Linked DNA regions of Homo sapiens: regions 1 and 3 are each linked to region 2. Evidence: promoter capture Hi-C in 16 types of primary human blood cells and fetal thymus (Javierre and others, 2016). All regions are on one chromosome and are shown on one strand. The core of a region is centred on a gene start or on the middle of the fragment in contact, and the rest is flanking DNA. Distances in the headings are between cores, read along the strand shown. Region 1 holds the start of FAM162A (family with sequence similarity 162 member A). Region 2 holds the start of POGLUT1 (protein O-glucosyltransferase 1). Region 3 has its middle 1.8 kb from the start of GOLGB1.

The links. The method cuts DNA at HindIII sites, captures the fragments that hold promoters and counts their contacts. A CHiCAGO score of 5 or more calls a contact.
Region 1: the fragment with the promoter of FAM162A here is called in contact with the fragment with the promoter of POGLUT1 in region 2 in 3 of 17 cell types (non-activated CD4 T cells, activated CD4 T cells and fetal thymus); the score reaches 6.5 in non-activated CD4 T cells.
Region 3: a fragment that was not itself captured here is called in contact with the fragment with the promoter of POGLUT1 in region 2 in 1 of 17 cell types (neutrophils); the score reaches 5.1 in neutrophils.

What each region holds. Positions count from the first base shown.
Region 1 is chr3:122,382,682-122,386,061 of GRCh38, reverse strand. FAM162A (family with sequence similarity 162 member A) reads right to left here and starts at 1,880. Exons shown (of 5, transcript NM_014367.4): 1 at 1,763-1,880. The coding sequence starts at 1,796. MIX23 (mitochondrial matrix import factor 23) reads left to right here and starts at 2,831. Exons shown (of 5, transcript NM_001017928.4): 1 at 2,831-2,888. The coding sequence starts at 2,838. RefSeq lists enhancers at 1,696-1,745, 1,569-2,069 and a silencer at 1,836-1,985. The HindIII fragment of the contact is 2,247 bases long and covers 1,101-3,347 here.
Region 2 is chr3:119,467,376-119,470,584 of GRCh38, reverse strand. POGLUT1 (protein O-glucosyltransferase 1) reads right to left here and starts at 1,622. Exons shown (of 11, transcript NM_152305.3): 1 at 1,479-1,622; 2 at 675-765. The coding sequence starts at 1,563. RefSeq lists a silencer at 1,346-1,545 and enhancers at 1,596-1,765, 1,458-1,958. The HindIII fragment of the contact is 3,798 bases long and covers 998-3,209 here.
Region 3 is chr3:121,749,851-121,753,308 of GRCh38, reverse strand. It overlaps a transcript of GOLGB1 not described here. Among named protein-coding and RNA genes, the nearest start is that of GOLGB1, 1.8 kb to the right of the region's middle. The HindIII fragment of the contact is 9,962 bases long and covers 1-3,458 here.

The DNA.
Region 1 (3,380 bases), core at 631-3,130, 2.9 Mb before region 2:
ACAGCAAAAAGCACAAAAATTCCAGAATTAAAGGGTACCCTCTCCTGGCTCTAACATTTTTTGGCAAAGAGATCCTGGACAAGTCATCTCTGACCTATGTTTCTTCATTTATAAAGTGTGGGAGGAATAAGACTTACCTGAGAGGGCTGCTATGAGAAATCCATCCAACAAAATAATGTATATGAAAGTATTTAGCTATGAAGTGGGTGAAAGGTAGTAGGTTGTTGCGGAGTTGCTCACAAAGCATCAGACATTCGTGGAAGATCATATGGAGAGAGCTGCTCATATAACATCCTTAGTGTGCTATTAAAAATTTTATATCTGAAGTAAAATAAATTGTTCTTAAATCACTCAAGGAATTCTGCTTTGGTTAAGTGGTCAATAGTGAAGTTTTTACACATCAGAAGTTTGCAGAGATGCAAAAATATATTTATGCAAGATGCATAAATATATTCTCAAAGCAAGAAGATGAACTACTTACAATATACTCAGTATTAGTTCAAAGATGTCAAAGTAGTTCCAAGATGTCAAAGTTCTTTTCATGCAGTCCATTTTAACTTTTTTACAGAGCAATGATCCTTTCACTTGCCTTGTTGAAAAGCTTCATAATGTTAATAGGATGTACAGAAGATATTTTAGGTGAATTAGTTCAACAAAACTGACAAAATCAATGAAATCATAGTATTGAGGATTTTAGTGGAAGAAGTGTTTGCTTTTAAAGGAAGTAAATATAATAATACTCTCTAGTTTGAGACATGTTTTCCAGTCCATTCTCTACCGGAACACTAGATAAGCTGTGTAAAGGATAATCTTGAGGTGGGGAAGGTTATGTATCAAACTTGTGAAACTATGCAACATTCACTCTTTTTTTTTGCATTACTTCATTTACATTACAATATATATTTATATTATTTGAATAGCCAAGTTTGGGGCTATTTTTCCTTTAAAAATTTAATTAACAACTTTTTAATAATGTAGTGTGTGCCATTGAACAAAAGATCTCTGGTACCCAGAAAAGAGTCAAAATGCAAGCCCTCTGATTTCTCAACCCCTACTATGCCAAGGCTCTGCTGGTTCTCCCAAAAAAAAAGAATTAAGCTTTCATTACCTAAGTCCAAAATAGTCATCACACAAATGTCTACCACCAAAACAAACTGCAGATCCTTCAATTACACACTTCCTCCAAGAAATTCGAATCAATTAATTGTATAAGTGTTTAAAAGTAATGTATCCTCCATTTTAAGAAAACAATTATTATTAATCTCTAAGACCTAAATCCTTGGCCTAATCAGACATTTAATGAGTGGGGAAACTTCAGACTGGAGGTTTTCTGGGATAAACTCCAGAGAGGAAGGAGCAGGGGGAAGAGGGAAGACTCAAGGAGAGCAATAGATAGGGGAGGTTAGGGTGGAAAGCTGAATGCATGGGTAAAGGGGAGGTCTAGGGATAGTAGGTGCTTTACAGACTGAGCTCAGGGGAGGCTGAGGACGGGGGTGGGGAGAAGGGTAGGCGCGTGGGCAGTTAAGTTGGTGGGAGCTGGGTGGATGGAGATGAGGGTAATTCACGGGCAGTCTCCAATGCCTATCAGCAGCTGCTCACCTAGTTCCCTCCCACATGGCTACTAAGTAGGTAGGATTCTGAGGAACCGAGAAAGTGCGTCATGGAATGGAGCCACTCCGGGGCCCAGGAAGGCTTCAGGATTCCCCCACCCGCAGCGGCCGGGCCAGCTCCCCTACCTCCCATATCCCGACCGGCGTCTCACCTGCTGCCAGGCGCAGACCGCTGAGGCTCCCCATGGCCACTTGCTACTCCGCCGACCAGCGCAGAACTTCGCCGGGGACGGTGGCGCTGGTGAGCTCAATGTCACCCAGCGTTGGAGTGGGAAGGACGCAGGCGGCGCCGGGGGGCGGGGCGTGCGCGACGCGGTGTACAGGCCTGCGCCAGTGCGGGGCGTGTAGGACGTGCGCCACGCGCTGGAGACCCGCGGCGCCAGCCTAGTGCCCCTGGCGCCGCATCCTGAGCCAGCCTCGGAGATGGTCCTGTGGAGTGTGGCGCCGTGGGCCCTTGCCCTAGCGGATATGTACCCATGGGAGTACCTGTGTGAAATAGAAAGGAAATGTGCAACTTTCGTGATCTGTAAACTCCCGAAATACACCAGATAAACCAGTATTCCAGTATGCCGCTCTTCCAGTGTTTTCAATGAACATATGCTTTTATCAGAAAACACATAATTGGACTCTGCTCAGTGGCCCTATCTCTTGTTGGAGCATCCCTCAGGCTAATCTGAGAAATTAACATGTATGTTTTCAATTTGTTTTCTATTTACCTATTTTCTAAAAACATTTGATCATCTCCATCCTAAACACTTTACTCATACCCACCCACACTGCCAGAAATGCCGTTTTTTCTTGACGTTTCTTAGTGGTCCCAAATTCTTAACAAAGACCCCCCTGCTCCAGGGTCCGGGGAGGAGGTTAGGCACTGGAGTGAGAGGTATTAGAAAGGCCTCACTTGCCTAGATTTCCTTCAACGACCTGGTAGGGGAACCACAAGGAAATTGTTTCCCTTTTGTGAAAAGATGGGATTGGAGTAAACAGTCCCTTCAAGGTCTGACAATCTTTGATCCATGTATCTGGCCCAGTTCCAGGAGGACATGTTAAAAGGGTTGGGACAGCAGGGTGACAGGTTCCGAGGTGGATGCGGACCACGTTGAACTCAAGCCTTGCACTCAGCTTTCCTAAGGATTCCCCTCGTACTATATTTTTTGTCAGGCGACTCCGCGGTCACCTTTGCTCCGCGGTGATTGGCCTGCAGCGGGGTCCTCGTGTTTGTCCAATATGGCGGCGCCCAGTGGCGGTGTGAACTGTGAGGAGTTCGCCGAGTTCCAGGTGATGGGGTTTTCCTCATGTGGCAGGCATGTGCCTCCTTTTGTCCCCAGACCCTATTCCCTGCTTTGCGAGGGAGTATGAACCAGCTTTGGAAAAAGCGGGCAATTCAAAGCTCTTTTCTCGAGCCATTGGAGGTCATGGGGGGCGCGGGTTTGGCCTTAGGGAGCGAGGCTGCTCTGTAGGAGGAGGGAGGAGGGGGGTCATAGTTCTCTCCGCGGCTCTCCGGCCTTGTCTGGGAAGCTCTGGGTAATCTGCTGTGGTAAAGCTCGGGATGCGTGGATAAGGATTGTAACAATCTTGTAGCAGTTCCCTGAACTCAGTTTCCAGCTTCTGCCATTCCTCTCCTACTTTTGTAAGTAGAGTTTTTGTGGGAGAGAAGAAGGTGCAGAAGAGCTATTTAGTTGATAAAACATACTTGGTGCAATTTACTATTTTTGTGGGACAGGACGTATGGAAGCTTGGAGGGAGGATTAATTATAGTACCTGCTCTAG
Region 2 (3,209 bases), core at 373-2,872:
CTCTTTTTTGAGACGGAGTCTCACTCTGTCACCCAGGCTGGGGTGCAGTGGCATGATCTGGATTCAATGCAACCTCTGCTTCCCGGGTTCAAGCGATTCTCCTGCCTCAGCCTCCCGAGTAGCTGGGATTACAGGCACGTGCCATCATGCCCAGCTAATTTTTGTATTTTTAGTAGAGACAGGGTTTCACCATGTTGGCCAGGCTGGTCTCGAAATTCTGACCTCAGGTGATCCACCTGCCTTGGCCTCTCAAAGTGCTGGGATTACAGGCATGAACCACCATGCCCAGCCTGATGTGCATTTTCTAAAGATAACCATCAGGAAATTTAGGACTAGATTCAGCGATAGATGGGTTTATTTCCTCAACAATATTTATCGAGCACGCACTGACAGCTAGCACCAGGGAGACAACAGCAAATAAGACACAGACCCTGACCTCAGGAAGCTTGCAGCCCAGTGGGAAAAACAGATGCACATGCACTGAATCCCGCAGTGAGTCAGTGGTTAGGTTGACACCACCTGAGCCTTTCCCATGCGAGAGCATTTTTATTCCCCAGAAATAGAAAAACATCCTTGCCTTTCTGACCACTGCAACCAAAATCTCTCAAGGATGTTAGAATACTTCCTGTGACAGCAACTAAACTCTCAAAGACACATCAAAGAAAAGAACTCACCCATGGTAGCAGCTGCAGTTTTGACTTGAACATGGTTCGTAATTCTCCAAAGACCTGTTAATTTGGTCAATAAATACTTTCCATTTTGAACCTTTAAAAAGTGAAGTAAATGAGAGTTAAAAAAATTTTCCTGAATGTTATTTGCTGACACCACACCAACAGAAGAAACAGAAGACCAAAACTTTCAGAAATCCCCTTCCCATCCCACTGATGGAAACGAAACGCTAGGGAGGAATTTTTGTGTGTGCAACTCCCACGCTCACGTCAAGTCTGTTCCTCTATCCGGCTGTCAGGTGTCCAAGAAACTGGAAAATTCCCAAGCTTAATGCTCAACCCTCAGAATGCTATGGATAGTGACGCGGACTCTCACTTTCTACTAATCAAATTGAACTCCACAAAGAGGATCAGTTAAAAGCTACAGACATTAAACCCCTCTTCTCTTCTGGCAACGCATATACACACACGCTCGCGCGCACGACATTTGCCCCCATCCCCGACCCCTCAGTGTTTCAGGCAGGTCCAGAGTAGCCAAGCACGGGCCACGCCTCCTGCGGGTGAACGGGGAATTCCCTCTCCTCCCTGTCATTCTGAATTCCGGGGAATGGGTTACTCTCCAGGGTCCAGAGCAGGAGCAGAGACCCCGGCACCTCACTCTCCGCCGCAAGGCGCCCCGGTGCCTTCTGCCCAGCTCCGAGCTACAGCGGCCACGGCATCTTCCCGGGAGCCGGCCGCGCGGGGGAGCGCCTCGGGACTCCGGCCAGACCCCGAGCCCAAGGGGCAGGCTCGGCACTGCCCGGAGCCCACCTGACTCCTTCTGGCGGCCCTGCGCTGAGGGCAGGAGGAACAACAGCAGCCAGAGCCGAAGCGGCGAGCTAGCCCACCACTCCATCGCCGGCAGACCTACTGCAGATTCCCCGCTGCGGCGCTGGCGGAAGCGCGGCCCCGCACAAAGATGGCCCGGGAGCCGCAGCACGTGGGCGGCGGGTCGCCCCGCACAAAGATGGCCACCGTGGCCCCACCACCCTTCCTCCAGTCCCCAGCCTTGAGGCGGAGTTTCCCTGAGAAGGCTGCGCCGGGAAGGTGGGGAGGATAAACGAATGGACCAGTTGCCTATCCTCCCTCCCTGGCACCCCTGGGAAAATAGGTCTGCAGCCAGAAAACTGAAGGTCAGAGAGGGTATGTTTCACGGTTAGTGGCACAACCAAGACTTGGCATAGAGCCTAGGCCAAACAGTTCTTCTCTTGACGTCAAATTGCCTCTTATCAAATAGCATAAATTTGTTGAGCATGTGTGTGTGTGTGTGTGTGTGTGTGTGTGTGTGTGTACAGCACGGTTAGACCCCAAAGGTTGCAATTAGCATAGCAGGGATCCCTTTGTAATAGGAATTTATAACAGTTGGGGTGACTTAGACGTAGGAAAAAAGATCAATGGTGTTAAATAAAGTTTATGGGAGGTCGTTGTTTTGGACAGAACTCTGGCACTAGGCCTCAAGAGAGCAGACAAAACCAGAATGGAGGCAACTTGTCCTAGGTGCTGCGTAATTAAACTCAGCTTTAAAAGGGGTCAGTTTTCCAACAAATAGGAGAAGGGGCCCATATACCTGAGCTGGCATGATAAAGAAGTCCCCTCTGATGTAACTCTTTGAGGAAAGTAACTTCAAAATGACCAATCTGCTTTTTGTTCCTTATTTCTGCTTTCTTCAGCCCTTTTCTGCCTATAAGCCCAACCCCTTCTGCTCAGCTCATTAGAACACTTTTCTGTTTTATAGATGAGATGCTGCCTGATTCATGAATCACTAATAAAAGCCAATTCGATTTTTTTTTTTTTTTGAGACAGAGGACAGTCTAACTCTGTTGCCCAGCCTGGAGTGCAGTGGCACAATCTTGGCTCACTATGACGTCTGCCTCCCGGGTTCAAGCAATTCTTCTGTCTCAGTCTCCCGAGTAGCTGGGATTACAGGAGTGTGTCACCATGCCCGGGTAATTTTTGTATTTTTAGTAAAGACAGGGTTTCACCGTGTTGGCCAGGTTGGTCTCAAACTCCTGACCTCAGGTGATCTGCCCACCTCGGCCTCCCAAAGTGCTGGGATTACAGGCGTGAGCCACCATGCCTGGCCAAGAACTTTAAACTAAATTTGATGAAATTTTGTTTCTTGACAGTGGGCAACATGATACTGGACAATATAGGTATATAGTATAGTACAGGTATATATCTTTATACAGGTATATATAGGTCAGTGTAGATATATTTAGTAATCATAGAACTACAAATATTTATCTATTTTCTTTTTTTTTTTTTTTTTTGAGATGGAGTTTCGCTCTTGTTGCCCAGGCTGGAGTGCAATGGTTCAATATCGGCTCACCACAACCTCCGCCTCCTGGGTTCAAGCAATTCTCCTGCCTCAGCCTCCTGAGTAGGTGGATTACAGGCTTGCGCCACCACACCCGGCTAATTTTGTATTTTTAGTAGAGATGGGGTTTCTCCATATTTGTCAGGCTGGTCTCGAACTCCCGACCTCCGGTGATCCACCAGCCT
Region 3 (3,458 bases), core at 179-2,678, 2.3 Mb before region 2:
CTAGGAGTAGTGACAGGGGACATCCTTACCTTGTTCCTGATCTTAGAGGGAAAGCATCCAGTTTCTCACCATTAAGAATCTGCAATATTTTTCTATCAAGTTGAGTAAATATCCTTCGATTCCTAGTTTTCTGAGTTTTTTTTTTTAATCATGAATGGGTGTTGATTTTTCTTCTTCCCCCACCTTCCCTCTTCTTCTTTCCCCACCTTCTTTCCTCAGCTTCTTTTCCCTATCCCCACCTTCCCTCTCTTCTTCCCCCACCTTCCCTCTTCTTCTTCCCCTGCCATCCCTCTTCTTCTTTCCCCTTTCCCTACCATCCCTCTTCTTTCCCCTTTCCCCACCATCCCTCTTTTTCTTTCCCCACCTTCCGTCTTCCTTTCCCCTTTCTTTCCTCTCCTTCCTTCTTCTTTTTCCCCCCTCATCTCCCTTCCTCTTTCCCCACCATCCCTCTTCTTCTTTCCCCACCTTCCCTCTTCTTGTGAAAATATTTTTCTTCATTGGTTGATGTGATCATGTGATTGTATATTTTTGCATATAATTGATATGTCTCAAAGTTATATTTTTCAAGACAATTTCTTATTTCTCCAAGATTTTAAGATTTATTCATATAGAATTCTATGTTGGATATTTTATTTAACAAATATTTATTGAGTATATACTATGCTGAAGATACGTTAGGTATGGAAGATACATTAATAAATAAGGCTGCATGAAAGTTTTGGAATAAGTTTGCATTTGGTATAGAGGAAGGTAAGATGATGATGAGGAAAGAACTGAAAAAGGGGAGAGGGAATTGGGCAACAGTAAATCACAGAGAATGTGACATTTCTTGTCTTTCAACTTTTCCTCCCTGTACTTTCAATTAGGGAAATGATCACTCTCTAAGGGACACCTGAATGACTCCACACTTCTGTGATTTCTGCAGTCTCTAACTGCTCTGGAGCTTAGAGTCATATCCAAACCCCTTAGCATAAAATGGCACAATTTTATGACCTACTCTTTGCCTAACCATTCAGTCATATCACTTATGTCAAATTGCCCAAATGGTCCATGCACATGCTGCTCCATCTACCTCCACTATTCTGTACCCTCTTTTTTGCTGGGGCAACCCCTAATTATCTTTTATTATCTTGATCACCCTCTCAGAGCCTAAATTGCTTCCATTAAGTTGCATTCTAAATTATTTCCAGTCCTTCAGTGAACTTAGAAATAATATGTTTTGCTCTTTAACTTCTCCACCTCATTTTCTTCCTTCACACCCCTAGTGTTCACTATAATTCTCACCATACTGTGCTCACCCAATAATAGAAGGTAGAGCTATAAGAAGACCTACTAGACAGAAAAAATTCTAATCTCGTCTCCCATAAGAAACTTTCATTCTGTTAAAACTGAAAGGTAAATTCTAAGGTCGAATGTGGAAATAAGTATGTAGAAAGGTAAATTTTGTGTAAGGGAGTACAATAGGACTCTCAGTGATGGCTTCTATTTTCTCTAAGATAGAAGCAAGTTCATCTGCTAGGAGTGTGAAGTGTAGACACGGGGTTGGGACTTAAAGAGGATGTTAAAGGTTTGAATAATTGTGGCAAATAGGAGAGGAAGCTGAAGACAAGAAGGATTTGGGAGTGTGCTGAAGATGGAGTTCAGCTGGAAACTGAATGTGCAGTGGTCAGGACATTGATGTCACTGATGACATTGTCCTGATGTCTCCTGCAGCATTTTGCTCCCCAAAGGTAGAAGTAGAGACCAATGGTTGGACTGATGCAGGTTTAGGACTTTGCTGGGTGGATACAATCAGGGATATAAGAATATGATGTATTCATTAAGTACTGCAGCATTCAAATTCTGTCTCTGCCCCTCACCATGTGACCTTGTGCAAATTATTTAACCTTCTGAAGTCTTATTGTCTCACATTTAAGATAAGGATAATCATATATACTTTATTAATTTAACAGATATTGAGTGCCCTCCTCTATACTTTTCTGGGACCTGGAGATAAAGCTGAGATCAAAATTACTACCTTCCTGGAGCTTATAATCTAATGAGAAGAGAGATACCAGATAAATGAAATATATAGTACTTTAGATGGCAAAATGCTTAGGGGAAAAAGAAGCAAAGAAGAAGTATATAGTGCATGCAGGAAATTGCAATTTTATTTATGTTTGTATTGATACATATTTGTACATATTTATGGGGTGTGGTAGTTTGATATATGCATACAATGTGTAATGATCAAATCAGGGTGTTTAGGATATCTATCACCTCAAACATTTATCATTTTTGTGTTTGGAACATTTCTAATCTCCTAGTTATTTTGAAATATATAACATATTGTTAACTATAGTCACCCTACTGTGCTATCAAACACTTGAACTTATTCCTTCTATCTACGTTTGTACCCATTAACCAATCTCTTCCCTCCCTCCCCCAACTCCACCTTCCCAGCCTCTGGTACTTATCTCTACTCCATGAGATCAACTTTTTAAGCTCCCACATGAGTGAGACCATGGGATATTTGTCTTTCTGTGCCAGACTTATTTCACTTAGAATAATGACCTCCAGTTCCGTAAGATGGGCAGCCAGGAAAGGCCTTACTTAGCTGATGTTTGAATTGTGAAGTTATGTAATCATTAAGATGAGTATACATACAATGGGCCAGCTGAGTGCACAGCAAGATTCAATAAATTCAAACTAACATTACTCTTATTGCCAAGAGAGTGCCTGAAATGACAGCTCATTGGAAACTGGCTACTTTCCTTCCCTTTCCTTAGGGGTTTAAGGAAAGCATGAGTGATTTCAGTCTTTTGCTGGAGCTCCTCACTGACACTCATTGCAGAGCCTGAGCCCTCAACTCTCAATCTTTGCTTAGGTCCTGGCTTAGGCTCCACTTTGTAAGAGGCACCTTCCTAGTATTCACTACTCTCTCTCTCACAATCATGTCCTTACAGACATTGCTGATCCTCTTTCATACTGACACCGGGTTCTAGTCCGAGTTCCATCACTAAGTCGCTGTTTGACTTTGGGCAAGTTACTTCTGTGGTTAATTATTTTTCATCAACAAAATCAAAAGGTGAAACTAGACGAACAACTAAGAGGCTCCAGTATTTTTTCAATCTAAGAGTCCCATATCCCCCACTCCCTTCTCACAGCTCATTCAACAATCCTAATGGCAGCGGGTGCCCGCAGTCTCAAGTCTCTGCCGAAGCCCAAGCCGCTGTCTCGGTCAGTCACAACCGACGAAGAGGAGGAATTGGAGGAAGCCAGCATAACCACTTCACACTGAGAACATCTGACCTTTCCCAGAACGCCCGCCCACTCGACACTTCCTGTCCCTCCCCAGATCTTGTTCCGGGGCACCTACTCGCGTCTAATCACTCCCCTCATTCACTCTTTAGGGTCCATTGGCTGTTTCTTTGAGGAAGCGGAGCATCTTCTGTCGTTGATTGGTTTCCGTCATTGTT